7 separate regions of the Homo sapiens genome follow, and regions 2, 3, 4, 5, 6 and 7 are each linked to region 1. Evidence: promoter capture Hi-C in 16 types of primary human blood cells and fetal thymus (Javierre and others, 2016). All regions are on one chromosome and are shown on one strand. Each heading gives the region's core, a stretch centred on a gene start or on the middle of the fragment in contact. The rest is flanking DNA. Distances are from core to core; before and after follow the strand shown.

What was found. The method cuts DNA at HindIII sites, captures the fragments that hold promoters and counts their contacts. A CHiCAGO score of 5 or more calls a contact.
Region 2: a contact is called between a fragment that was not itself captured here and the fragment with the promoter of CSMD3 in region 1, in 10 of 17 cell types (M0 macrophages, M2 macrophages, M1 macrophages and 7 more). The highest score is 37.3, in M0 macrophages.
Region 3: a fragment that was not itself captured here is called in contact with the fragment with the promoter of CSMD3 in region 1 in 1 of 17 cell types (megakaryocytes); the score reaches 5.9 in megakaryocytes.
Region 4: a contact is called between a fragment that was not itself captured here and the fragment with the promoter of CSMD3 in region 1, in 4 of 17 cell types (M2 macrophages, M0 macrophages, M1 macrophages and 1 more). The highest score is 9.3, in M2 macrophages.
Region 5: a contact is called between a fragment that was not itself captured here and the fragment with the promoter of CSMD3 in region 1, in 1 of 17 cell types (M2 macrophages). The highest score is 5.6, in M2 macrophages.
Region 6: a fragment that was not itself captured here is called in contact with the fragment with the promoter of CSMD3 in region 1 in 1 of 17 cell types (neutrophils); the score reaches 5.0 in neutrophils.
Region 7: a fragment that was not itself captured here is called in contact with the fragment with the promoter of CSMD3 in region 1 in 1 of 17 cell types (neutrophils); the score reaches 5.0 in neutrophils.

What each region holds. Positions count from the first base shown.
Region 1 is chr8:113,435,004-113,439,130 of GRCh38, reverse strand. CSMD3 (CUB and Sushi multiple domains 3) reads left to right here and starts at 2,192. Exons shown (of 71, transcript NM_198123.2): 1 at 2,192-2,454. The coding sequence starts at 2,277. RefSeq lists enhancers at 758-1,258, 1,271-1,320, 3,098-3,608. The HindIII fragment of the contact is 6,354 bases long and covers 1-3,882 here.
Region 2 is chr8:112,803,062-112,807,188 of GRCh38, reverse strand. The region is part of intron 12 of CSMD3 (CUB and Sushi multiple domains 3); the gene reads left to right. Among named protein-coding and RNA genes, the nearest start is that of MIR2053, 160 kb to the right of the region's middle. The HindIII fragment of the contact is 2,455 bases long and covers 949-3,403 here.
Region 3 is chr8:114,064,850-114,068,976 of GRCh38, reverse strand. No RefSeq gene overlaps it. Among named protein-coding and RNA genes, the nearest start is that of CSMD3, 630 kb to the right of the region's middle. The HindIII fragment of the contact is 3,630 bases long and covers 356-3,985 here.
Region 4 is chr8:112,827,066-112,831,192 of GRCh38, reverse strand. CSMD3 (CUB and Sushi multiple domains 3) reads left to right here. Exons shown (of 71, transcript NM_198123.2): 12 at 1,404-1,507. Among named protein-coding and RNA genes, the nearest start is that of MIR2053, 190 kb to the right of the region's middle. The HindIII fragment of the contact is 2,855 bases long and covers 949-3,803 here.
Region 5 is chr8:112,844,627-112,848,753 of GRCh38, reverse strand. The region is part of intron 11 of CSMD3 (CUB and Sushi multiple domains 3); the gene reads left to right. Among named protein-coding and RNA genes, the nearest start is that of MIR2053, 200 kb to the right of the region's middle. The HindIII fragment of the contact is 2,333 bases long and covers 1,075-3,407 here.
Region 6 is chr8:114,009,750-114,013,876 of GRCh38, reverse strand. No RefSeq gene overlaps it. Among named protein-coding and RNA genes, the nearest start is that of CSMD3, 570 kb to the right of the region's middle. The HindIII fragment of the contact is 1,132 bases long and covers 1,210-2,341 here.
Region 7 is chr8:113,965,003-113,969,129 of GRCh38, reverse strand. No RefSeq gene overlaps it. Among named protein-coding and RNA genes, the nearest start is that of CSMD3, 530 kb to the right of the region's middle. The HindIII fragment of the contact is 6,634 bases long and covers 1-4,127 here.

The DNA.
Region 1 (4,127 bases), core at 943-3,442:
TTTGTTTCTTTTAATAAGAAGTAAATTCAGTTGAGGTGACTAACCTCTGCACACTTGGTAAGGAGGATTTTTGCTGAGCATCCTCATTAAGTCCAAGGGCCTGTTTACATCTCTAACTGGTTGTCCAGCCCAGCAAAGGCAACAGCAGCAACACCACACGCTGACATCTTGACTGAAATCAATGCCAGAGCAGCTGCCAAGGTGGCTTAGCAGGCTAATGTCGTTTTCCATGTTGATCCTCCCAGTCTCTGTCTAGTCCCTACCTTGTTGCCCACTCCCCTTCGAAACCTGCATATGCAGACAATGAAAGAGAGCACTGAAAAGAAGGGACAATGTTCTGCCTGAGGGCTCTTAAAGTATCTCTCTGAATTTAATGAGGTCAGCTGGGCGTCTACAGCTTTTACCTTTTGCTACAGCTCCCTACCCAGGACAGAAATCCCTCTCTAACACACAAACACACACAGGCGTGCACACGCATATGTACTGCAAAAATACACTTGGGAAAACACCTACGCATGGCAAATCACTCTTTGTATCTTTCATAAACACGCACACTTACCTCTCACTACAGCGCGTTTATGCTCTCGCGCGCGCAGACACACACACACACACACACACACACACACGAACTGGGAGAATCACAGGCCCACACACAATGCCACGTACCCCGAGAGATCAGAAGCCTTCCTACGCCTGCAGATTGAACTCACTCGCCACTCAAACCTATGGACACTCGCAGTGTGCCCACTTCCCAGAGCGGAACTCCTTCCAGATTCTAACGCCTTCCTCTGCTGAGCGGGCAGCTCCAACGCGAGCCAAGGGACAAAGCTGGCCAGGGTAATGCTGTGGTGCACGGGACCAAACCCATTATTTGTGCACAGTGCAGGGAGCTGCAAACTCAAGTTGGGCAGTCCTCTAGACTAAGCCTTGTTGATAGACGCTCACGCCCATGATAGCCTGAGGCAGTTAAATGGAGCCACACGCAACAGCAATATCCTGTTTCAGAACTAGCGCTGTGGCACTCCCCACTGCTGAGAGGGGACCAGATTCCCGAAAAGGTCAGATCACCAATCAGTTGCCTAATCTAAGGAACTTGTTCATTGAAAGATTTGGGCCAGGACCGTGGTCGAAAAAAATCAAGGAGCACGACATACTGGTCCCGGGGACACAGCTCCCCTGACACCAAGGGATGGCAAAAACAGGGTCCCTTATACATGCGAAGGAAGAACGGGCGGCTCGGAGACGGCCAGTAGATGGCGCAAGAACTCTTCCCTTGTGCAATCTTAACCCTTGCGTGGTGCATGGGGGAAGCAGATCCAGATGTATAGATACATACATTTTTCGTTTTGAAAGAAACCTCCTATTTACATATTTGGTACCGATTCAGAATTAAGACAAATGGGTTTGTTCTAGATAACTACCACAGATAAAGTAGTTTAACTGCGGCACACACAAACTGAAAAGGGGGTTGGGAGGATGAAAGGGAGAACTATTTGAGGAAACGACATTGACTTCCCTCCCCACCCCACCCCCGCCCAGGCCACGGATGAAATCCGTTTCCCGAATCATAAAAACCCGGTGAAGGGTTTACACGTAGTTATTTGAGTATGTAAATACATGTGTTCAAATACATTCTTTTCCGTGTGAAGGCAGAATTTATTGAGAAAATTCTCTGTGATTTCCTTTTTCAATTAAATCACAGGATAATAAATGGGAGAAGCCTGCCTGAAATATACTGCAACTACAGTAGTAACACATGTCCCATTATAACGACGTGGGCATCGATGGAGCCCGATTCATTATCGTCACGGTTTCCCCAAAAGCAACACAGATCCTCCGATTAAAATATTCCTTTGACATGCTTCTGTATTCGCAGCCTGCAACGGAGAGCTCACTAACATTATTTCTTGGGCTGCTTTTACAGGCAGAATTGATCTATTCGGGGAAAAAAAGCAAGCCCCTTAATTTCAAATATTGTGTGGAGTTTATCAGAGAGCAGAGGTGGGCTTTAAGAGGCTCACTAGTGGTTTCTGGTGGTTGCTATAACGAGCCAGAATTGGGGTAGATTTTGGTGGAGGGGAAAAAACGCACAAGAAAAGACAGAATCCAGAGTAGCGGAGACTTTGTGCCCCCGTTGGAGAGATGGTTGAGTCCTCGTCAAGGTTGCTGTGGTATCCCAGAAACACCATTCACTCCGAGCTGTGACCGCGCACCAACAACAGCAACAACTCCACTGCGCCGGGCTGAGGAGCAGGAATTAGGAGCTCGCGAATAATATGAAAGGGATCCGCAAAGGGGAAAGCCGAGCAAAGGAATCCAAACCCTGGGAGCCTGGCAAGCGAAGATGCGCTAAATGTGGCCGCCTAGACTTCATCCTGATGAAGAAAATGGGGATTAAAAGTGGATTTACGTTTTGGAACCTCGTCTTTTTATTGACGGTGTCTTGTGTGAAAGGTAGGTCTGCTTTGGGGGTCCCCTCCGCTTTGGATGGAGGTGGGCTGACTTGTAGATGGAGAGAGGCTGGCAGCTTACTTTGCAATTTGCACCGATAAAATAATCTGATAATACTAAAGGAGTTGATTCACAGCTCGTTCTCCCCCCCTCAGATAGGAAATGCATTTTGCTTGCCAGATTTGGCGTTCAATGCGGTGATTGAGCTTGTGCTCAATAAATATTCTTGCAGTATGCTCAAACGAATACGTGAGTTGGTTAGTATAGCCTCTAACTAGTGGATATCCAGGCAGAATTCCTCTGCAAGACTTTTCTTAGTGGTGAGGATTACCTTGATTTCTTGTCAGATCACTAGGGCTTGAGGCTTTGGGTGGAATATATATATTAAAGACGCTGGTCTAAATGCTTTTTAACCCTTTCAGGGAAGAAAGTTATCGACGTGCTAGGAATGTGTTGATTTTAAATGCATTAGGGCACAGGGATCTTCCAAGCACTGCCACATCAACATGAATGTCTGCATGCATATGTATGTAAATTGGGCTTCTATGCAATGTTAAATGTAGGGGAGCTTCCCTAGGACCTGTGGTAGAGGTTTGGCAAAAAATGAGGCTTTCGAAGGGTCTGAAATGCCATGAAGTGTAAAGAACCACCTTAAGGGATGAATGAGGTAGGAGGAAAGTCATTAGCTGACGACCAAAAGAAAATCCCCAGCAAGTCTCAGCGTTCAGACAGGTAGAGTGAGTGTCACATGCACAGATAGGGGAGGGGGTAGGTGGGATGTAAAAATGTATTCCCAAGCAGGAAGGCAAGGGACAGTCAGGATCATGGGAAAAAGAGCTGTCCTTAGGGAGAAAATAGATCCATAGCTCTCTTCCACAACTTCTCCGGCACCCTGCTGCCCATTAATTGCTGCAAAGAATACTCAGGAGGTGTTTATGACTCATGCCATCATTTTTTGAACAATCACCTCTCCATACTCATGGCAGCTCGAATAGACGCTATGGATGCCGCTTTCAGTGAAGCTAGTTTCAAATCCCGGGTGTCTGTGTGTCGCGGGGGGGCGGGGGATCGCGGGAAAGGGGGTGCTGTTTTGGCCCAGGCGCGCCAGGGCTGTCAACACAAACTGGACGCTTCTTCCTTTGTAAAGGAGTGCCTCTCTGAACTGCAATCGGGCCGCGTCTCTATGAAACAGTTTATTGTCCAGCTTGCAGCTGGCTGTCCCCCCACGGAAGGCAGCTCATTTGCATTCAGTGGAAATGATAATTCATGTTTTGGGAGGAGGGAGCTGGAGAGGTTACCTTTCCCTCTACTATAACCAATGATGGGTGGCATGTCTAGAATTTTAATTTACATCCCAAAATGCCAGGAAGTCAGTCGCCCCGGTCTCTGTGGCAGCAACTGCCTTGTAATCCCAACCTGCTCCTTGAAGCTTGATTTTTCTTTTCTCTCTGGGGCCTCAGAGCAGCTCTGAGCCGAAAAGCTTGTCCTAAGTGGCACAACTACACTGCCAAATGTACAAAGCACGGCTCAGGTTGCTTACAAGGTTTCTTTGTCGCTGGCTCGACGGGTGAGGAGCCACACATTTATGCTTAGTTCGCCTGCCACTGGGAGTTGGTGGTTAATGGATGGCCCTGGGGCTGCCTGCTAGACGCGCGCTTCGCGTGGGGGAGGCGCGA
Region 2 (4,127 bases), core at 927-3,426, 630 kb after region 1:
ACAAGGGTCCTCCAGCTGGCTCTCCAAAAAAAGCCAGTAGGGATTTTCTTTACTAGGTAACTCATGGGAATTGACATCAGGGGTAAGGTACACAGACTGTTCTGTGCACAGCACATAAGTGGTAGAGTACATGGGTCAGCATATCTTATTGTGATGGTTATCTTGAGCAGTGGGCCACCTGGTGGTCTGGCCAGAGGCAACAGGGCTGTAAATCAATTGTGCAGCATTCCTTCCCAAGGTGGGAAACTGCAAACTTGGTTTGATTTCGAATCTCCTAAGGCCAGTTTCTGGAATTATTTAAACAAACGGCATGGTTACACATTATGAGAGCACAGAAGAAGAACATAGAATGGCTTTTTTCCTTGTATGACTACTAACAGGTATGTTATCAGTGAAGTAGTGGTATAGGTTTGTGATCGGGGGAATGCAAGAAAGGATGTTCTAGTGGAGGTGAGCTGAAGCGAGGCCCCATCCTTTCTCTGCCTCATTACAGACAAGAATATCAGATAAATTCATCAGAGCTTAGTGTCTTCTCTTACCCCTGTAATACAATCATGATCATCTATTTGATCAGGATCTGGTAAAAGAGTAACATGATTTAGGATATTGCATCTCCTAAGCACAATACTGGGATCAATGCTTGTTCTTAACTAGTCTGTTGGCATACCCACACATTCTGGATTTTTTGCACTTGTAAGATAGCTGTCACAGCATGTGGGACGCGCATATAAGTGACTGCAGGTAAGGGCTTGAGCCTTTTAAAAAGTTTATATGCTACTTCCACAGAATCTTGTCATCAACAGTGCCACTACCTCCAAGGAAACTGAGAAATTTGTTATTAATGTGTCATCTATTCCCAACTTTTGAGTTAAAATTCCAAAAGTAGCCGCTTTATTTTCATAGCAAAGCAAGTGGAAAGTCTTTGCAAAATTTGGAACTCCCAAAGCTTATACTATAGCCAATTTTAATTGGAACACTTCTTCAGATTCTACTGACCAAATAAAAGGATCCGAGGAATTATTACACAGTTATTTCATTAGAGTTTTGGCCACTTTACAAAACTGAAATTCACTGTCCACAATATTCTACTAGTCCTCAAAATAGTTTTTTTTTTTAAGGCCTACATAATGCCTTCAGCATCAACAGATGCTCTAAATATTTTATCTCAGTTTGGCAATTTTGCAATTTGTCTATTGAAGGCTTATGCCCTTGTGAAGGGGGAGTTGTAACAAAGCTGAAGTGTCAGTTTTTTATTGCTCTTTAGTTTCTGAGCCTACCAGCAAACCATCAACATGCTGATGACTTACAGATCCCCCACTGGGACAAATTTCTTTAAGTTTTTTCTGTAAATGATTAGAGAAATGGAAGGAGAGTCAGGAAATCCTTGAATACTTTTTCATAAATACTGAACTCCTTTCTAAGTAAAACAGCAAACAGCAACAGAAATGTAAACTTGTTTACTAGAGCAATGAGAAAAAACAGATCATAGATAAATCGGAGAAAAAACTTTGCAGAGGATGGTAGCAAAGTACTAAAGTTTCTGATGTTAGAAACTAAAGGCGTGAATGGAGCAATAAATTTATTTTCTTCTTTAAGATCTTGTACACAGGTCAATCATCTTTATCACATTTACCTTCTTTCCTTTCTGGAAGTATGGCAGTATTAATATTACAGGGTGAGTGTCTTTATAAAATTACCACTTGTCTTTGAATTTTTTTAACTGTGTTTATTTCTTCTAGTAGAGCCTTTGACAAAGGGTATTGTTTGACCATGGCCATTGCTTATGTTTTTTGTAAAGAATTTCTATTGATTCTACACCTCAAACTAAACCACTTGCTAGGGCCCAAAGTGATGAATTGACTTGTTTCAGTTCAGGGCACTTATCCAGCACAGTGTGAGAAAGCTGCTTTTCGGAATACCCCTTTTCTTTCAGAAGGTACACAGTAATCAGATTCCTTTTATTCCAGGGAGTTCCACAGACACTCCCTATGGAATATAGAATATGGTAGTCTTTAATTTTCCCAGCAGGTCTCCCTGCAATAGGTTTACAGGAGGATCAGGAGAAAACTAAGAAAACCTATTCCCAATATGAGGCCCTATTTGTGTGGGAACTGCAGAAGAAAAAGAGCAAGTAGAAGGCTAACTCAAAATACCAACAACGTGTGTTCATTAACACCAGATGGAAAGTAAGACTTTTCTGGGGAAATCACAGAATAAGTAGCACCAGCAACTACTAGAAAATGCACACCTGGAATCCCAGCACTTTGGGAGGCTGAGGCGGGCAGATCACGAGGTCAAGAGACTCAGACCATCCTGGTCAACGTGGTGAAACCCCGTCTCTACTAAAAATACAAAAATTAGCTGGGTGTGGTGGTGCACACCTGTAGTCCCAGCTGCTTAGGAGGCTGAGGCAGGATAATTGCTTGAACCCGGGAGTTGGAGGTTGCAGTGAGCCGAGATCGCGCCAATGCACTCCAGCCTAGTGACAGAGCGAGACTTCATCTCAAAAAAAATAAAATAAAATAAAATAAAATAAATGCAATGAGTTAGCATGAGAGAAAGTTATTGAAATGTACGTATCATCAGTTCCCACATCTGAGATCCCCTCAATCTGTCAGTTTTAGGTCATTCCCAAATTATTTCCCAGCCTTCTGGGCTTTCCTGATTCCCTTATTTCTGCAGTTGCTGTATCCTCTGGATTCTCTTTTCTCCAGTCCCGCCTCCAACATCTGGCTTCTCGCAGTATGGCATATGGTTTTGTTTTCTTTCTTTGCTCACTCTACAGGCTGGCCAGAATAGGGGTTATGCCTTTTACTAAATAGTTCTTACTGGATAATTAACATATCAGTTTTTTTTTTAATTTATTTTCTTCTTCACATTTCTCTAGATTGTCCCAAAACTAAGTAACTGCTGCTAACATTTGAATCTGTCCTTGCCATCCTAATACCCTTCCTCTAATTTGAATTTGGATAGTCATCAAAGGACCTGAGACAAAAATTTTGAACTACCCTTGGATCCATACCGGTAGATTCTGAGAAAGCCTCAACAAACTGCTAATGGAAATCAATGGCAGACTCCCTTGTCTTTCGGATACACCATTGCAGTTTCACGCAGCTCACTTTTAGAGGAAAGATTTCGAGTACAGCTACAAGGAGTTACTTTCAGTGAGTCTCCAAATCTCTTAGTTATCCCTTATTTGTGGAGGGTGATGAACAGTTATCTACCTCTTGGTTCAATGGGTGATCTTCTGGTCCCCAGTGTGCTTGTTCCATCACATGAGTGGAGTCTGCTGATTGCAGAACTCCACACTGTATCCTGTGCAAATCTCCATGCCCGGGACTGTAAACTGAAAACATGCTGCAGAGGATGCCTGCAAACTTCTGGGAAGCAGGGAAAAGAAGCTTTTATTTGAGATATATCAGCTGGCAAGGAGGTCTGTATAACTTCTCAATGGCATCAGCTTCACTGGTGATCAAATAAGAGCTGGTCTTTCTCACATTGTGACAAGATAAATGTAGAATTATATGACTTTTTGGCTTATTTTCCATGTTACTGTTTATTAGACTAAGACTATTTTTTTTCCAAATAGCAAGTGAGACCACTCTACATCTTTTTGTCTTCATGTGGGGACAGTCTTTTATACAAGTTCCCAATTATTCCCCAAGCACGTTCCTTCATAATTTCTGCTTTCCTAAATACATGAAATATAAATGATAAGTGACTTTTGGGGGCACAGTATGTGCTAAAACATTGAGTAGGCTCAGGGTTAGGGCATGAGGCACACAAATCTGTTTCCTCAAACAAGGCAGATAATTCATTATCAGCGAAAGAAGTTGTGGCCTTGTCCTTTGTAGGGAAATACACTAACTAGGAGAACTGGAGGTCTAAAACACCATTGCTTTGATCTTCTCAGGAGTCTACTAAGGCAGAGAAGGATAAAGAGACACAAGGGATGCAGAAAGAGCAGAGATAGCAGAAAAAGGAAGAAGAATCAATGAAAGTGCCTTTAATTTATCCATTTCCTCTTCCATTCTTCTCAATCTTTCCTTCTAGTTATGCAGATCTTTTTAAGTTTCCACCAAGAATAATATGTATCCAATAAATGCCAGCAGTTCATTTGCTGGGGA
Region 3 (4,127 bases), core at 921-3,420, 630 kb before region 1:
TTTAAGAGCATTCCACTGGAATGAGGATGTTGTAGAAGGCAGAAATAATGCACTGAAAAAATAATCCCATAAACCATAAACCATGAACCGTTAGCTGTTTCTAGGAAACTGAGCATGAAAGGTCACATCTTTTCTTAGTCTGTTAGAGGATGTCAGGATCTTTAGCTAGGCAAGAGGTATTTCTACCAGAGAAAAGGGCTTTGTGAAGGAGGAAACATGTATGCGGCTAGAGATAAGGAAGACAAGATAAGGGAGACTTAAATTTTAGAAAGAAATAAAAGCTGCCAGTCATAAGAATTGTATAATTTCTAAGCAAACTAATTCCCCAAATGGAAAAAGGTAAATAATTGAAGCTTAATAAAAGGATAGAATCAGGGAGCCATAGCAACTGATTGTAGAATTGTAGCATGTAAACTGTGTACCCAGAAATTAGATTAGCAGTAATGGTAAGACTTCTAAGGGACTGTATTAAAGAGAATTATAATAAGAAAAGAAAATCCTGGTCAGTCACAGGTAGAAGATCATATTTTCTGGTTAACTAAGAGTTGCCTGAATTCAAACCTTGTTAAAAATAATTCTACTTGCACTTACAAAATCTCTTACCTCGCTAAACAAAATTTACTCAACAATTCAAACATTGATAATTTGGGGATTTACTATGCTTTAGAATTGATATTCTTAAGTTATTTATTATCATAGTTATTGAGGGTATGGATAAGAAAATTTAAGGTCACAAGCTGAACCCAAATTTAGGTTCCCAATTTGATAATCATGAACCTTGGGCAAATTATGTAATCTTGCTAAGTCTCAATTTATTGTATTTTTCACTTTACTAAATATCACCAAACTGTTCTTCATGATAGTTATTCTAACTGCCATTCCTACCGGTAGTTTCTGAGCATTTCCTTTGCTCTGAATTTGCACCAACATTTATGTTTTCAGGTTTTATAAGTTAGGTCATTCTGATGATTGAGGAATGATTCAGTATTATAGTACAATTATGTTTTTACACTTCATGGGTTCATTGGATTTTAAAATATTTTAGTCTATTTATACATTAGGTTATTTACATTTTCTTTTTTTTTTTTTTTTGCCTTATTTTGGTGTGTGTGGTGAGAACGCAATAGCCAATCTCTTAACAAAGTTCAAGTGGTTTGCAATACAGTATTATTAACTATAGTCACCGTGCTGTACCTAGATCTCTAAAATTTATTCATGCTACATAACTAAAACTTCGCATCTTTTTGATTAACATTTACCTGACAGGGCACGGTGACTCACGCCTGTAATCCCAGCACTTTGGGAGGCCGAGGCGGGCAGATTTCTTGAGGTCAGGAGTTTGAAAGCAGCCTGGCTAATATGGTGAAACCCGTCTCCACTAAAAATTAAAAAACAAACAAACAAACAAACAAACAAAAAACTAGCCAGGCATTGTGGGGCATGTCTGTAATCCCAGCTACTTGGGGAGGCTGAGGCATGAGACTTGAACGCTGGAGGTGAAGATTGCAGTGAGTCAAGATCGTGCCACTGTACTCCAGTCTGAGTGACAGAGCAAGACTCTGTCTCAAGCAAATAAATAAACAAAAACCATTTACCCATTTTGCCAACCTTTATCCTTGGTAACCACCATTCTACTCTGCTTTTATGAATTCTAAGTGAGAATCATGCAGTATTTTTTTCTAAATTCTAAAGTGAGATCATGCAGTATTTTTCTATCTGTGACTGGTTTACTTCACTTAGCATTATATCTTTCAAGTTCATATGTTGTTGCAAAGGGTAGGTTTTCCTATTTTAAGACTTAATAATATTCCTTTTAAAGGCTTAATAATAATAGTAACCCTTTAAGTGTAGTATGTGTAATATTGTATGTAATATTATGTCAAACATTATGTCTAATATTACGTGTAAATAATTCATGTATTTACCTTTAAAAAATACCTTTTAAGGTTTAATAATATTTGGAATATTATTAAGCCTTAAAATAGGAAAGCCTACCCTTTGCTACAACATGGATGGACTTGAAGGACATTTTATGTATATAAAATGATTGGTTATTAAGTGAAATAAATGGCCAGTCATTTTATATATGTAAAATTACTTACTTATGTATTAATCCATAGAGGGACACTTAGGTTTTTTCAGCATCTTGGCTATTGTGAATAAGTCTACAATGAACATGGGAGTGCAGAAATCTATTTGAGATATTGAATTTATTTCCTTTGGATATATAACAAGAAGAGAAATTTGTATTTTCTTATTACTTTTTAAGATTTTATATATACTAGAGAGTAATTAATTAGACATTAGATGCAATGAAAAGGTTTCTTCTAATCAATGATTTTTTAAAAATTTTGTCATGTTGATAAGTAAATTTTAATTGTAATGTACCAAATATGAAACATTTTGTTCTTAGTTTGCATGCTTGTATTTTGTTTAGGAAACCTTTCCTAACAAAGATTACTAAGATACTGTTTTATCTGATATTTTTGAAGTTTTACTATGTACGTTTAGGTCTTTAGTAATACATTTAGGTCTTTAGTAATGTAGACTTGATTTTTGTGCATGTAATTTAAGGTAAGGTACTTACCTTATGTTTTCTGTTATATATACTTCTCACCTCTCCTCATTATAATTTCTCTTTGAAAGTGGGGCTGATTCCTGTGAATCCTAGTGGCAACCTACTTATGGTTGGTTGGAAACAGAGGTAAAAAATTGTAAGGGAGAAAGCAATATTTTCCCTTCTTATACCTTGGAAGATGCCTCTAGCAGCAGCAGCATCTCTTTCATAGTGCCAATTCCTGTCAGACAGATGCGGAAGTTCTAACCTCTGCAAAGCAGTGCTAATCTCTCAGTTTAATCCAACCTCCTCCATTTATCTCTCCAGTCTAGGGGCAATCATGTCTTTCTGCCTGAATTTTTAGATTGCCTTAGTGTGTCCTAGTTAGCTTCTCAGCCTCTTCTATTATGTGTAAATAATTCATGTAATTACCTTTAAAAAATAATAAAAAGGATGGCATTTAATTCTTTTTCTGTATTTATGGAAATGAACAAATGTTTCTCCTTTGTCTTTTAATACTGCTTTTCATCAGTAAATTGTATAAATGTACAATCAGTTTTGTAGTGTGGTTTCACTTTATTTGGCAACAATTTTTTATGAACTCTCTTCATCTTCATATGCCTGAAAATATTTTTTATATTATTTTATAATGGTTTATTACATTTTTTAACCTACTGGATTCACAGTTATTTGCCACAGCAATTTTAACATATTCTATTATTTTCTTGTTTTCAAACTAGAATGTAATATGCTCCACAAAGGAAGGAATTTATGTCTGTTTTGTTCACAGCTCTCTCTGGAGTATGCATACTAATGTCAGGGAAAGAGTAAGCATTTAATAAATATTTGAATATTAGATAAATGAAAACTGTTGCTTTTCAGAAGCTGGGTGCAATCTAATTGCAATGTCTTTGTAAATAATATTTTCTCTCAAGCAGTGTTTAAAAGTTATTTCTTTTCTATGTTTTTGTTTTCTACAGAGTTTCTACAATGTGTGCAGGTATTAATTTATAATTATCGTGTCTGATATTCAGGGTGCACTTTAAACTTGAAATTAGTTTCTCTCTCTTTTCAAATATTTTGCTAAACTCTTGGTAATTATCTCTTTAAACATTGTAACTCTGACATTTGCTGCTTTCTCTGTTACTTTCATTTGAAGAATGCAGGCACAGACCAATCTCTCCTTTGTGCCTCTTACCTTTTCTTTAATATATTTTATATCTTGATTTATCTGTAATGCATTCTGAGTTAATACTAAATATTATATTTTAATTTAATATATCTTTACAGTTAACTAGAATAAAAATGACCCTTTCCAAAAAATATCAATTCCATTGTTTATATTATCCTATCTGTTCTTCTTTCATGACTACCTGTATTTGTTTCATTATTTATTTTTAATGATTTTCTTTACTATCACTTTAAGCTTCTAAAGTATGTGCATTTTAAAATTTTCACCAGATTGCTTCCTTAAAATTAAGTTCACTTCAAATGAATTCCTGTATTATTGTTGTTTTCTAGGATATATTTTTAGCATGTTATTCCTTTATGTGTTTTGTAATTTTGGTTG
Region 4 (4,127 bases), core at 1,127-3,626, 610 kb after region 1:
TCTTTATACACATGCTGTATTTAAACTTGGCCAAAACAATTGTTTTAGTCAATGCAAATATTAAAATATTTTATAAAACAAGAAATATGTGTAGTCAAAAATTGTTGGCCAGGTCCAGTGGCTCACGCCTGTAATCCCAGCATTTTGGGAGGCCGAGGTGGGCGGATCACGAGGCCAGGAGATTGAGACCATCCTAGCTAACATGGTGAAACCCCGTCTCTATTAAAAATACAAAAAAATTAGCCAGGCATGGTGGCGGGCACCTGTAGTCCCAGGTACTCAGGAGGCTGAGGCAGGAGAATGGCATGAACCCAGGAGGCGGAGCTGGCAGTGAGCCAAGATCGCGCCAGTGCACTCTAGCCTGAGTGACAGAGCAAGACTCCATCTAAAAAAAAAAAAAAAAAAATTGTTATTATAACAAAAAAAAGCCAAGATATAAATTCCTTTATTTTTAATTATTTTTATAATAACAAAGTAGCAAATAGTTATAAATATTACTAAAGAAATATCTTCTTCATTTATTCTCTCATAATATGGTAACTTCAGGCATTCATTTTATCAGGTGATGAATAATATTTTGTTATAAATTATTTTTTGCTCAAAGCATGACTCTATGCAGGACATTATGTAATTTTATGTAATTTCTTTCTGTACTGATTCTTAATTACATTTTTTCAATATTATAGCTATTTTTAAAATTGCAATTTAATTAAATTTGAATTTTTGCATAGGTATATAAACAATATATGGATACATGAGTATATTTTAGCAAGAAATAATGCTGAATTACATAGCATGGTATAGTGTGCCTCTCAAAGTATTGTGCTCCCAGTTTTGCCGCTCATTTTAATATATTTGAGGAATTCTTTTACCAAACGATACATAAAAATAAACTTGATACCATTCTGGCAATCTAGATTCAAGTTTAGCTCTAACAAATTTTAAGCTTTACTACTTAATGGAAATAGCACACTCTGTTTCTGCATGTTAACTTTATAAAATATATATGCAAATATGTGGAAAACCACTCTCCACCTACATATACTTTTTATAAAGCCTTCTTAAAGTAGATTTGCTTTAATCATTCTTCAAGTAAGAGTATTCTATAAACAGAAACCATGCAATTTCATTGAAAATTTAATGCAGAAAATACAATACAGCAAGTAAAAGTCATGTAATGATATGATTGAACTTTAAGAATATTCTAACATGACTTGCTGCCATACTATGAAATTATATATATATTTATACATAATTGAACTGCTTGTGTGTGTGTGTGTGTGTGTGTGTGTGTGTGTGTGTGTGTGCAGAGAGACAAAGAATGCATTTCTGTCATTGCTTTTTTTGTTGTTTTTATTGCACAACGCAGTATATTTAAGGTGCATGTTTCTGTTTACTGCTAGGTTATCCAGATAAATTTTGAAGAATTTGATCTGGAGATTGGCTATGATACCTTGACAATTGGCGATGGGGGCGAAGTTGGAGATCCTAGGACAGTGCTCCAAGTGTAAGTTCCCAATGTTTCATTTTTGCCTTAGCCTATCGGGTACTAATAAAATTTTACTTTCAAATTATTGTTTTACATTGATCGCTCCCACTACTACCAGCAGAAGATGCACAGTAACTTAGTTATTATTGTTAACTTTCATAGAATCTGTTAGTGCTTCTTCAATGAGATTTAAGGCACTTTGTCTCAGTTCAGTTGGGCTTCTCTAACAACATGCAGTAAACTGGGTGACTTATAAACAATAGAAATGTATTTCTTATAGTTCTAGCGGCTAGGAAATACAAGATTAAGGTGTCAGCAGATTTGACGTCTGGTGAGGGCCTGCTCATCTAACCTGATGCTTCTCAAAATAGGGTCTTTTTGCATCACAAATGCATCACAAATACCTGGTGCACATTTGAAAATGTAGATTTTTAGGCCCTCAAGCCGAACTTAGTGAATCAACATCTCCAGGATGTGAATTTATCAATCTATATTTTAACAGAATCACTGCATGATCCTTATGCACATCAAAGTTGGAGAACAACTGATATAAATGTTAAAAAAATTAGTATCAGCATAGACAGCTACTACTGGTAATGCCCTTATTGTATGTAAATTGACTAAAGGTAAGCTATTTTTTTTTCCTTTTTTTTTCTTTTCCTTTTCATTCTCTTCTCCCTCTTCTTTTTATTTTCTTTTTAATTTTACAAGAAGGCCTCCTAGAACTATTATTCCAGAATCCTGTAATAAACCAAGGGTTAAACTCATAGTCACACATAGTATGTTGTGGGCTCCAATATTACTGCTCTTTAGTGTTACTTTTCTAGAAAACAAAACAAAAACCAAACTTACTCACCTGTCTTCATGCACTCTTGACCTCAACTTCAACCTCTTTCCCCTGTCTGCAACGTGGATATCATTGATCAACATGATTTGGTGGTCTATCTCTGGCCTACTACAGTTCTGTTTTGTGTTTCCTAAGGTGTGATGGACAAATGGGCCAGCATTTTACATGCTTTATATGTTCAATTATTAGTTCGTTTTCACACTGCTTTAAAGAACTACCTGAGACTGGATTATTTATGAAGAAAAGAGGTTTAATTTACTTTCATTTCCACAGGCTTAACAGGAAGCATGACTGGGAGACCTCGGGAAACTTACAATGGTGGCCGAAAGCAAAGGGGAAGCCAGGATGGTGGCAGGAGAGAGAGAGAGATGGTGGCAGGAGAGAAAGAGAGAGAGAGAGCAAAGGGGGAAGTCCCACACACTTTAAAACCATCAGATCTTGTGAGAACTCACTATCATGACAACAGCATGGGAGAAATCCACCCCTGTGATGCATTCACCTCCCACTAGGTCCCTCCTCCAATTTGACGTGAGATTTGGGTGGGGACACAAATCCAAACTATATCAGTTATGTTGCTCACATTTTTGTAACTTCATTCTTAACACTTCCTCTCTTGAAAATGATCAGCATTTTTGTTGCACCTGAGCAACAATTTGAGCCTGTTAGGCATATTACCATACTGAACTGACATTTTCCAGAAATAATCAATAGTTTCTACTAAATCTTATTGTAGTTTTATACCTGATAGCTTAGATTTCATTATAATATAAAATTGCATATATTTTACATGCAATATACTGTAAAATTGTATATATATAAATTGGCAGCAACAGAGCTGCTCTGATGATTAGCTGTGCTTTTTTCCTATCATTATTTGTCAAATACAGAGTTTTAAGGAACTGAAAATTACATGTAAAAATTTGAATTTATGGCTTCTTGTAAAACTGGTGACCCTAGATCTTCATAGTCATGTGGCAAAAATTGGCTAGGACTGTCTTCTGCCTCCTATGGAGAGGGCCTCTTTGTGGCCCTAATCCCTCTATCATTTTCCACTTGAGCTTCTAAGATCCTTTGCGTTGCCTGCCTGGGCCTATAGCTAATTAAGTGACACCTGATATAAGACAAAATGTGGATTGCTTTCTTTATCAATTTATTCATTGTTTTGCAAGTGAATATGTTTGTTTCTTTACCTGACACTCATAAACACTGAAGTTTCTTGGATATTAATGATACATAGTAAATTTGGTGATTAATCCTCACACATTGCAGATGTTTCTCTCTACATGTTTGTTAGATCCTATCACATGCACTTTAGAGATAAAATTGTAAAACATGTATTTGATGAGATATCTTTTCCTTTTTCTCCTTAAGACAGAAAACTGGATTTTAGGTTCAGATTCTTAAAAACATGGACAAGAAAAGGCAGGCTGGCTAGTCAATTGACTAAAAAATACTTTTTAAGAAGCTTTCATTCATGTATCTGCCACAAAAAAAACTTCCATCTCAGCATTGGATAAAATATTAGAAATCATCTTGTCCAACTGACATCCAAGAGCATAGATGCTATGTCCTCCTATTGCTGTTTTCTTAAAAAAACAAAAAAAAGCTATTTGAGCTAATTGGTATCACACAATTGTGGGTAGAAAGATTATATATATATATATATATATATATATATATATATATATATATTTATGGTAACCTAGTAAAATACAGAAGAAAGATGTCAAAATTATCTTAAATACTCAACTATTAGAACTGGTTAAATATAAAAAGAGTACATTTGTTGGG
Region 5 (4,127 bases), core at 992-3,491, 590 kb after region 1:
CATCTCACCTCTCTGAATCTCAGTTTTCTCATCTTTAAATTAGGGGTAATCATCCATGCCTCACCATGTCATAGGAGTCTTGAAGTATCACACAAGTTAATAAATAAAACAGCACTTTGTACATTGGAAACTACCTTGTAAGTTTAAGGAATTATATATGCTTATTTTTCATCCCATCCCTTATTCCAAAGATAACTTTTAGTGAATGACATTATCAGATAGACCATTATACATATATTGAGATATGTTGAGTATTTAAGGATGTGTAAGCATAAGCATAGTACCTAGCTCATAGTGGGTGACCAGTTAACATTTATTGTATAAATAAAATAATTAATTAATATGAATAAGCAATATATATTGTTCGGAAATTACTAGGTGCTTTAATACAGCACAGTCTAAGATGAGTGCACAATGAATAGCAAATATTTTGTTGGTATTTGTACTGCTTTATAAATAAATGCTAACTACATTTATATTAAATCATATTTGTGCCTGTATATTATTTTCTCTAGAGCTACCATAAGGCATAGTTACTGGGTTTTTCATATAGTTCTGATAAAACTTCATTACAACATTTCATATCATTCTGAAACATAGATTTGATTTCTGTTGAAGTGAAGTATTAAATGAGTTTTTCTCTGCTCTTATGTTTTTATGGACACTTGCCCCAAACTTAAATTCAGGTAAAGGACAGCCTTTTCTAGTAGGAGATGAAGTTCCTTTTCAGACAGGCCATTCCATTCTTTGGCTTATTTTAAAAACAAGTAGTGAAGGTCCAATTTATAATGAAGGTAAAATTATTAAACTGTGAAATATTACCTTTGTACATTCAATACATTTAAGCCCATGTTTTTTCTTTAGATCCATTAAATACAATCTTAATCTTCCTCCCCATAAAGTCTTCAGGCATCAGAATACACTCTTGAACTCACCTGTAACACTGTCATCTGAACAATTCTTGTCACTTTTCCATCTTTAGAGATAGCCTTTTGCCACTTCATTTAGTCAGCCCATTTATAGGTACTAGTTCTTTGCGCCAAATATTTGGAGATTTGGTACTTGTGCCAAGCTTCAGTGCCAGGTCTGAAACCTCAGCCAGGCATAGAGAGTCACTTTTCTGCAGACTATAGCTGTCTTCAGTTATGTTCCTGAAAAAGCAGGCCCAAGAGAAGGAATTATATGCTGCTGATTCATTAAGAAAGTGTATCCAGGAGAAACTATTAAGGGAGTGGGAGAGGCAGGACAAGAAGGAAGTTAAGCAAGGTGCAATTTCAGACAAAATCCAAGCCTCTGCTGGATCTCATGCAGTGTAAATTACACCTGATAGTTTATCCCAACTCAAGGCAAAGAAGCTGTGCTCTCATACTTCTGCACCCCATGATCATAGGGTAAGTGATACCCAGATCTTTCAGGGCTCATGTGTGGACCAAGTGGGCTCCTGTAGCCTGAAAGCAGTCTCCAGAAGACTCATAGCTATACACGTTTAGAGACAAATGCATAGTGTATGGAAGATAATGAACAGATAACAGAAAGGGCAAGAAGCATCCAAGGGGGTTATTGATCACCTGGAGCATTGACAGTATCTACTACAATGGAGCAGGCACTAACAAGACCAAACCTGAGGCAGCAGTACAGGGATAAACTGAAATTAAAGCCAGGTTGGCAGTCTTAACAAAGCATGATTCAGAAAGAACCTAGTAGCAGAGTGAAGATCTTGATACAAAACAATTAGATGGAAATTAGAAAAACCAACTACAAGGTTCCCCAAGCCAAGAAAAGTAGCTCTGGTCACTATTTATAGAACACCCAGGCTTGGCAGTAGAATTTTAAAGGCGCTGATCTTTTATTTCCCCTCCTCTTAAGTGAACCATATCTGTATAGCAGTACCTTAACTATTCCTAACCCCTACCAATGGTACTTATTTTTTTTGTTCAAATGGTTTATTTAATTGAAATACTTTATTTAAAGTGAATTACTCTGTGCAAGTACAATAAAATTAAATATCAATAAATATAAATAAATAAATATCAATAAAGAAAAAATGAGGCCAGATACAGTGACTCATACCTGGGAGCTACTTTGGGAGGCCAAGGTGGGAGGATCACTTGAGGCCAGGAATTTGAGACCATCCTGAGCAACATAGCAAGACCCTTTTTCTACAAAACAATTTTTAAAAATTAACCAAGTGGGCATGGTGGCACATGTCTTTAGTCCCAGTTACTCAGGAGGCTGGGGTGGAAGGATCACTTGAGTCCAGGAGTTTAAGGATGGATGAGCTATAACCCTGCTGCTGCATTCCAGCCTGGGTGACAGAGCAACACCTATCTCAAGAAAATTAAAAAGTGTATTTATAAAGGGAAAGAAAAAAGGAAGGAAGGAGGGAAGGAAGGAAGGGAGGGAGGGAGAGAAAGAAAGAAAAAGAGAAAGGAAAGGAAGGAAGGAAGGAAAGGAGAAAGAGAGAGAGAGAAGGAAAGAAAGAAAGGGGAAAAAAGAATATTTCTTTTTTAACATGTTAAAAAAGAATTATCTTTTTTAAGAATAATTTTAACATGTTAAAAAAGAATTATCTCTAGATAGAAGATTACATGCATTTTCCACTTTAATTTTGTACTAACAAAAAAAGTATCAAATAAGATATATGCTTCATTTTATAATGAAAACACATTTTTAAATAATAAATTAAGTAAAAGAAAGGCATAGGTATAGAGTGAGTCATATTATTGACTACTTCCTTTTCCTTGAAACTTTATCCTCCCCAGCCTCTTTATTCTCTGTTTTCCTGAATTTCCCCCTACGTTTCCAGGCTTTTGCTAGTGACCTTATCCTTAAATATTAGTGTTCCTCTATATTAATAATTCAAACATTTTTCATTTTACATCCTTCCCCTTTTCCTTCACATATCTAAATACAAAGTCCAATGACTTCATTATATTTAATTAGTATGCCTTGAAGTTGTTTAACTCCCTCTCACTCAGGTTTCCATTATTCTCCTTTGGATTAATAACCAGCTTTCCAATTAGCAAATCTTCATCTCATTTTTCTGCTTACTCCAAGCCTGTTACTTTCCAAAAAATTCAGTGTGATGTTTTATTCTGAGATGAAATAATGTCTTCTTTGTAAAATATTTAAATGGTTCTGCATAGCTTTATAGAGGAAGCCATGGGCAACCTAAACTACTCTTGTGTTAGACTCATACTTCAACACTCTATTTAGCCCCCAAAGCACTTCTAGGACCCTGTATTTTGGGGATAAGCCGCTCCTTCTGTAGGGAATATACTTTTTCACTTTGTTTACACATCTCCAGTCTTGTGACCCTGTTTATTAATGGCATCTTCTAGGACTCAGGTAATCTTTTACCTTTTCCTAGAAGCCTGTCCTATCTTCCCACCTAGATTGGGAAAGCTTACTCTGCATAACTGACCCATGTGTTGTCACATTACATTGTACTTACATGTTTGTGCACTTATTTTCCTTAGTTTAACCCTTAAGGACAAAAACCAGTTCCTGAGTCCATGCATCCTTAATATCTAATGAAGTAACTGTCATGTGGGAGTTTTTCAAATGAATATTTATTGAAATAACTGAGCAATTATTCCTAGACAAAATAGTTGCTTGTTTATTTCCATGTGTTTTAGCTCTTTCTAGGAATGTCTCTGGTTCTTACCAACAAAGTAGGCAAAATATGCAAATGGCAAAGCATTTTTGTTTGTATTTTTTCCACTACTGTTCCCACTACTAACCATTGGGTATACCCACCATTTTAATCTCAGTATTATGATTATACCGGAATCATATGCATAATCAGAGCTGTGTTGAATAATAATTTGACATAAATAGTAAGGAATTCAAATAAATTATGGCAATTAATGTACTTTATACAACCAAATACAGTCTTTCTGGGGCCGGCATAGGGGAGGAAAAAGAGAGACTGGGCAAAGAAGGTCTTAATTAAAACAACCGAGATGCACAGGCTTTTCAATTATGATTAGGTTTGGATGTCAGTGACAGAAAACGCATTAACAGAGACTTAAACAAGATATGTATCTGGTCCAAGACTAATGGTGTCTCTGATCCAGAAATTTCTCAGAGTCATAGTCTAACTCACCACCCTACCATTCCCAATT
Region 6 (4,127 bases), core at 526-3,025, 580 kb before region 1:
AATCAATTACATCAGGCCAGGCGCTGTGGCTCATGCCTGTAACCTCAGCAGTTTGGGAGGCCGAGCGGGGCAGATCACCTGAAGCTGGGAGTTCAAGACCAGCCTGGTCAACATGGTGAAAGCTTTCTTTATTAAAAATAAAAAATTAGCCAAGTGTGGTGGCATGTGCCTGTAATCCCAGCTACTTGGGAGGCTGAGGCATGAGAATAGTTTAAACCTAGGAGGTGGAGGTTTCAGTGAGCTGAGATCACACCACTACACTCCAGCCTGGGTGACAGAGTGAGACTGTCTCAAAAAAAAAAAAAAAAAAAAAAAAAAGAAATCGATTAGATCAAATTCAATAAAAAAACAAAATTAAAATGATGAAATTAAAAATAAAAATAAAAATTCCCAATAAAAAATACTATTTGCCACTGGGCATGGTGGCTCATTCCTGCAATCCTAGCACTTTGGGAGGCTGAGGTGGGTGTAACACCTCAGGTCAGGAGTTCAAACCCATCCTGGCCAACATGGTGAAACCCTGTCTCTACCAAAAATACAAAAATTAGTTGGGCATGGTGATGCACACCTGTAATCCCAGCTACTACAGAGACTGAGGCATGAGAATTGCTTGAACCTGAGAGACAGAGTTTGTGGTGAGCTGAGATGATGCTACTGAACTCTAACCTGAGCGACAGAGCAAGATTCTGTCTCAAAATAATAATAATAATAATTGCATATAGATATTCTTAACTACATAAATCAGTAATAAATCAGTTGTTAAATTATTATTTATTATTAAATCTACAAATTTTCCTTCACCAGGTGAGTAAACGTCAAATACCATCATTTTTTCAAAGTCTTTGAAAAGCAGAGCAAACATAAAAATTGCATGAATATATTAAGCATAATTTCCTAAGAATTATGACAGAGCTAAAAAGTGTGGTAGTCCCTCCTTATCTGTGGTTTCAGTTACTCAAGGTCAACTACCATCTGAAAATACTAAATGAAAAAAGTCCAGAAGTAAACAATTCATGTCTTAAATTTTGTGCTGTTCTGAGTATCATGATTAAATCTCACACCATCCCACTTTATCCTGCCCAGGACATGAGATATACTTTTGTCTAGCATATACACAATTTTGCTACACTAGTCATTAGTAGTCCTCTTGGTTATCAAACTAAAAAACATAGTATATATAGGATTTGGTATTATCTGTGGTTTCAAGCTTCCACTGGGAGTCTTGGAACATATTCTCCATGGAAAAGTGGGAACTACTGAACAATAAAAATAATATAATACAGTGTTTTTATTTTAAAATGAAGAATCTTAGACCTGAATGGCTTATTTCCTTGATTGAGGTTCAATTATTTAGCATTAAAACCCAGCTTGGAATTTAAACTTTCTGTTATTGTTTTGATCTCACTGATGTTTTCTTCTTTGTTAACATAAAATTTAAAAGAGCAACTTGACCATCGTATCCATTGATCTACGATAATTCAAAATTTCAAAAAGGTAATCTAACAATTTCTTAAATTCCTTGGTTTTAGTTCAGTAAATCATGAGTAGTGTAGAGCACACAGAAACCCTGAGTATTCCCTTTGCTTTCATGACAGTTGAGTGCTGTTTTGGGGAAATAATGAGCCTCTGTCTCCTGCTGGTCAGGACCTTGCATTAATCTCAGACCATGATATTATTTCCACTTCCTCCCAATCCTTTCCTTTTTCTTGTCTTTTCTTGTCTTTTCTTCCCTCCCTCCCTCCCTTCCTTCCTTCCTTCCTTCTCTCTCTCTCTCTTTCTTTCTTCCTTTCTCTTTTTTTGACAGAGTCTTGCTCTGTCACCCAGGCTGGAGTGCATGATCTTGGCTCACTGCAATCTCTGCCTCCTGGGTTCAAGCAATTCTCCTGCCTCAGCCTCCCGAGTAGCTGGGATTACAGGCACCTGCCACCATGCCCGGCTAATTTTTGTATTTTTTAGTAGAAATGGGGTTTCACCATGTTGTTCAGGCTGGTCTCGAACTTCTGACCTCAGGTGATCTACTGGCCTCGGCCTCCCAAAGTGCTGGGATTACAGCATGAGCCACTGTGCCTGGCCCCTTTTTCATTTACTCACATGTTCCTGAGAATGACTCTTCCTTTAAACATGTTGATTTTCATAATGCACAATGTCTGTATATTAACTTTCCCTCTCTTTATACTTGTAACAAATATATCTCTTTGGAAGAAGTCATATACTTCCATGCCCTATTTTAGTTACATCCCCCACACACGCTCTCTATGACAGAGGTCCCCCAACCCCCGGGGCCAGAGACTGGTACCAGGCTGCCTAGCAGGAAGTGAGTGGCGGGCGGTCAAGTGAAGCTTCATTTGTACTGACAGTGCTCCCGACTCTGGCATCCACTTCCTGTCAGATCAGCAGCAGCACTGGATTCTCACAGGCGCTCGAACCCTAATTCGATTTGTGCATGGGAGACATCTAGGTTGTATGCTCTTTATAAGAATTCAGTGCCTGATGATCTGTCACTCTTTCCTACCACTCCCAAATGGGACTGGCTAGTTGCAGGAAAACAGGCTCAGGGGTCCCACTGATTCTACATTATGATGAGTTGTATAATTATTTCATTATGAATTACAATGTAATAATAATAGAAATAAACTGCACAACAAATGTAATGCACTTGAATCATCCCGAAACCGTCCGCCTCCCCAGCCCTTGGAAGTTTTCTTCCATGAAACTGGTCCCTGGTGCCAAAAAGATTGGAGGCCACTGCTCTATGATATTTCTTTAAACCACATTTTCTGTTTCATTTTGTTTGTGATCCTAATCCTGTACTTTTTCAACATAGAATTTCAGGCCAAGATAGAAAGTTCTGATCTATACTAATTTATAATATATTTTAATCAGAAATAATAAAATACAGATTTTCTTATGTTAATATTCTTTTCCCTCTGTCATGCTAAATCTAATAAATCTAAATAAAACTAGTTCATTATATATTCTATGCATGTGAAACATACATGTACCTCATACATAGGTAAAATATTGTGCATCAATAAAAGAAGAAAAATATTTTAAAAAATCTAAGTAGCCTTTCAGTTGCATTTAGCATGCACATATTTTAATGATTCTACACTTACCATTTAATCTTTTATATCACTGTTTTTTAAAGCTGAGTAGTCATTAAACAATGCTGTCTGAATCATCTACTTTATAAATAGTTGAAAAACAAAACTAAGCAATATATACACCTATCTTATACACACAAGTGAGCTAAATTTGAAAAAATAAGGAAATGCTAAAGGCAATATTTAGAATAGTGTCAACTTTGAGGGAGAGGCAAGGAGATGGTAAAAGTGAGCATATAGGTGTATCTAAATTATTGACTATGTTTTGGTTTGTGGTACATAGGTGTTCACTTTATTATTAAAGAATAAAGTAAAATAAAGCATGATAAAATCTAAAAAACACAATTTATACAAAATAAAGTTATCTTTCAGGAAGAAAGTGTTTTAATTAAGCTAATTCTCTGCACCTGAAATCCTTAAAAAGAAAATTTTTAGAAGGTATCATGCAAATTTTGTAAATCAGGTTGTTAGTAATTTTCTTTCAGCAATTTGTTGTAACAATATGACTTGATTGCACAATATACTGAATACCTGTGATAATAATTAGAGGAAAATGATTTGATTACTTCATTTAAAATAGTCCCCTAAATTTGAAAAAAAAAAAAGAAAAAATAACTGAAACGAAAACTTAGTTCTGTTTCAAGTCACTTTTGGCAATATAGTGTATTAGAAAGGTGAACTACTCACTGCCTTATATTATCTTTATATCAGAGTTGGATATTACCTTCCTTAAAAGAGTAAACTGATAAAATTGCTTTAAAATCTAATTATCATTTACTAAATGTGAGTCATAAAATCCAAGATTGTATTTAGAGCAATATTGGATCAAGTGGAAACATAGACTCCAATACAATTTAAAAAACCAGCCACAAGGGTGGAATTTTTACTAAACCTTGACTCATTTACATAAATATTTACACAGCTGTCGTCCTGGCCCAGCTTTTAAGACAAGTTCCTTAGTAGAGTTTTTATACTGTCCTGATATGGAGTTGCATAGCTGACATTTATGATATCCCACCCTGT
Region 7 (4,127 bases), core at 699-3,198, 530 kb before region 1:
TAATTTCAAAGTCACATTGCAAGGGAGTGTGAACATAGGAAGGAAAATAATTGTAGCTAATTTTTTAAGCAATCTACACCATATGGGCATGAAAGGTTGAGCTTAATGTTGAAGTGAAAAAAATAAAACTAGCTGAAACATAAAACAAAAGATTATTCCTGTAATATTTAGAATAAATATTAATCTCTATAACAAGGACACACAAAGATACAATGGTTCAAAGAACATTGATGTTTACTTCTCTCTTCTATAAGGTTGTCAATGGAACCCATTTATTTAGCTGGACAATTCTCTCATGCTCACTGAACCTAAGGTAGGTATTCATTTTACCACTTCACAAACAGAAGGACACAAAAGAGAAGGCAAAAATAAGCAAATGTGTCTTTAAACAAAAATAATAGTCTCTAGCTGAGCAATGATGCTCCTCAACAAAACACACAATTTCTTTTCTTTTTAAAATGGCAAAAATGGATATTGTGGGGAATTAGTAGTGTCCATGGAAATAACATTCATCATTAAAGCCCTAATGATCCCAAAGTTGGGTTTACTATAAAGCAGCAGCAAAATGTTATCTTGTGTAATGGTTCCCTAGGAAATTAATTGCTAATAAGGGGGTAAAATACCCTAGGGTAAGATATTTAAAAAATACTAGTGTAAAACTGTACATTTTTTACATGATTACTTTAAAGATTTAATTTACCATTGTGCATTATAACCTTTCTTATAGAGTGGTATTTTGAGCAGCATTTTCTTGAGAAATTTTTTTGGAGGAGGATTTAACAAAAATAGTGTTCTGAAAAAAATACACTGGAAAATATTGCCATAAAACTTATATTATGTTAATGATGATCTTATGTCAATGACTTATTCATATCATTTGAAACATTATAGATATACTTTCCTTCCAACTATTCAACATCACATTTTGGCTACAGTATATACCCATGGAATTTGAGTGAATTAATTAATCTTTATGAAAGTATGAAAATATTTGTTCACAAAAACACATAATAAGCTCAAAATAGCAGAGAGAGATGAAGAAGAATACAATTTAAAATGTTGAAAACATTTTCTCATACATGAAACAAAAGAAACCTAGAGTGAGAGAGTAAAGAATTGGTTGAGAAGTTCATATATTCCAATTAAGAATATACTATGCAATATTTTGTAAAGGGTTTGTTTAATTTTTTGTTCTTCTGTCTTTTTATTTAGACCTCCACAAGGACAGAAATGTGTTTATTATCATTGCTTTTGTTTTTATTATTATTACTTTTGTAGTATCATCGAAACCTTGAATAGTGACCAGAACTTAGGAAGCACCCAATAAACATTTGTGGAGTAAATTAATTCCACTGAGATTTATTCCTGAAAGACATACCATAAGCTGTACTAATGGGGGTTAATTAATAATTCCTTAATTAATTGAAAATGCTGTTTCAATATGTCAGAACACATGGGTATTCACACATGGTTTGTTGAATTGCATCTCCAAGTTGTTAAATTAATAGCTCAGATATCTTGAGCTCTGGGAATTTTATTCACATTCTGAATTCTCCTCAAACTATTTACTTAAGGGTTTAAACAACAATATAAAACTCCTTTGAGGGAATGATGAAAAAATTAAAGGGCTTGTTTTGAACAAGAGACTATTAATATGAATAGGTCATACCCAGGTTATAAAAACATTTCTGAATTTAATCCTCTTGCTAACTACAGTATATACCCACGGCCATCAGGCACTTCACTTAAAGATATGTGTGTTTTCTAAATTCAAAAAAATGTGATTTCAGGTGTTTATAAAGCTCATATTAATATATTTTAATAAATTAACTCATTCGGTAGACTTGAAAAAGAATAGTCTTATTTTGGTTTGACCTTAATCTACATATTATGTTTTAGATTCACCCTAACTTAACATGGAAATATCATAATTTGGTCTTTATCTAACTTATATAAGATTGGTTGTTGGCTAAATATTTTTGACTCATATCATTGTAAATATAGAACATTTTTCTTTCACACTGTACTTTCTGAGATTTTTTCTCTTAATCCTTAATTAAAGGAAGTATCTTTATTGCCAGAAAATCTTCTTGTCCCTAGTTTTCTTTATTCCAAAAAAAGTCAAAAGAGGGTTTATGATTTAAAGGCATTTGGTAGAAAAGAGATGAAAGGGGAAGAAGTAAATATCCTGTGTTTATCGCATATTTTTAAGGTAACAAAACAACAATATATTTTGTGTATTAATGCATATGTGTAATAGTATTATAAATTTTAAAAAAGACAAAAAAAAAAAATAACCCAAACACATCCAGTGATAATGATATTAGTTCCAAAGCTGCCTCTAAGGACTGAGGAGAAATGGTATGAAAGAATAGAGAAAAGGAACAATGAGCTTATCTGTAGTATTTTTTCTTGTGTTAAAAAAAAAGTATAAAATTTAAAAGCCAAATGAATATTTGTTCATTCTAGATGGTGAGCTGTTAATTAGTTTCTATACATTTCTGTGCTATAACCTTCGTTTTCAAAACTTATATAATTACAAAAGCAAAATCTATTTCTGTACAGTTGTTAAACTTGCACCATGCATTTAAACTTACAAAATTCTGAGAAAAATCATCTAAAGAAATCTATTAACACTTAGAATTTAATCATTTTAACTGTTAACATATTATTCATCTTATTGTATACAAGTAATGTGACACTTTTTCTATAAAGCCACTGCTAAATTCCTAGCCCCATACAATAAAAGCATCTCCAGAATGTATTCCATCTCTTTCACTTCTTCATTTCTTTAATTCCTCAAATATACATTCCCCCTTCTGAAACAGAAGCATACTCCTTGGACCTTGTTCATTTTCTGAAACTTTCCTTTTGTCACCACTCAGAGAAATTTGTGTTTTATTTTTTGTTTGCTTGTTTTGTTTTGCTTCATCACAACACACACTTGAAAGTTCTAAGCCCTTACTCACGGCATTATCTCTGCCTGGAGGGCAAGTCCTCCATTGTCTGCTCAGTAGAAGCCCTCTCAACCTTCACTCCCATTTTTCAGTCAGCTTGCTACAGATTTATCTGATAACTCATCACTTTCACTGCTGCTCATGCTCCCTTGTACAAATCCCTATTGCTGCAAAGACATGGCCGCTTTCAAGAGACTGATCTGACTTTCAAACTATAAACGATAATCATGGAAGCCAGAAGCCTCTGGTCTGAAGACCACTTCATGTACCTTACTATAATGGATGAAAGCAGATACTTGAAATAAAAAATATTAGTTTCTAGTCTTGTCTCTGCTACTTAAAAGGGGAGTACTTTGGAAGAGTTTCACAAACCTTATTAACTCTGTTATGTTCATACACAAAATGGAGGTAAGAAAATACACTTTAGGATTGCTGTGAGGGTTAAGTTTGCCTATCATATTTCTGCCTTCTAGAAGTGCTCAATATATATTAGTTATCTGTCTTCATGATGAGTAATGTGTTTGCCTCTATGCCCACTAGAAAGAGATCTCCTTTGTTAGAAAAACCCCCGATTGTTGCCCAAGGAACCACCACCAAAATCTTGTGCAAAAATATATGCTTTTATTACTCAAAATGTGAAGACTTATTAGAAAAGGGAGCAGCCCCCTCTATAAAGTCCCCTTACTATTCTCAGAAGACTTCTTAAAAATGTGTATTAGTCTAGGCATTGATGCAGGAATACAAAAGAAATAAAATAGGCTGTGCTTTCAGGGCACTTCTCTAATTAGACAAGCAGATACAGTATTTACACAGATAATACCAGGGCACGAAAGGAGAAGAAATAAGATTTTGAGATAGGTTTGTCCAAAGAGCTTTACAGTAATGCAAAATTTCACGTTAATGACCTTGCTTTTAAATATCTGAGCAATTGCAAGATCAGTGACAGTTGTTTTCAGTCTGATAAAAGAACAGAACCACAAAAGGATTTTTTTTCGGAAATCACACCATAACGGCAGGTCATTTTTTTTTTTTTTAATAAACAGAAATATATTTCTCACAGCTTTGGGTCTGGAAGTCCAAGATCTAAGTGTGAATATAGTCAGGGTGTGGTAGGGGCTTCCTTCCTGGTTTGTAGACTGCCTACTTCTTGTTGTGTTCTCTTATGGTGGC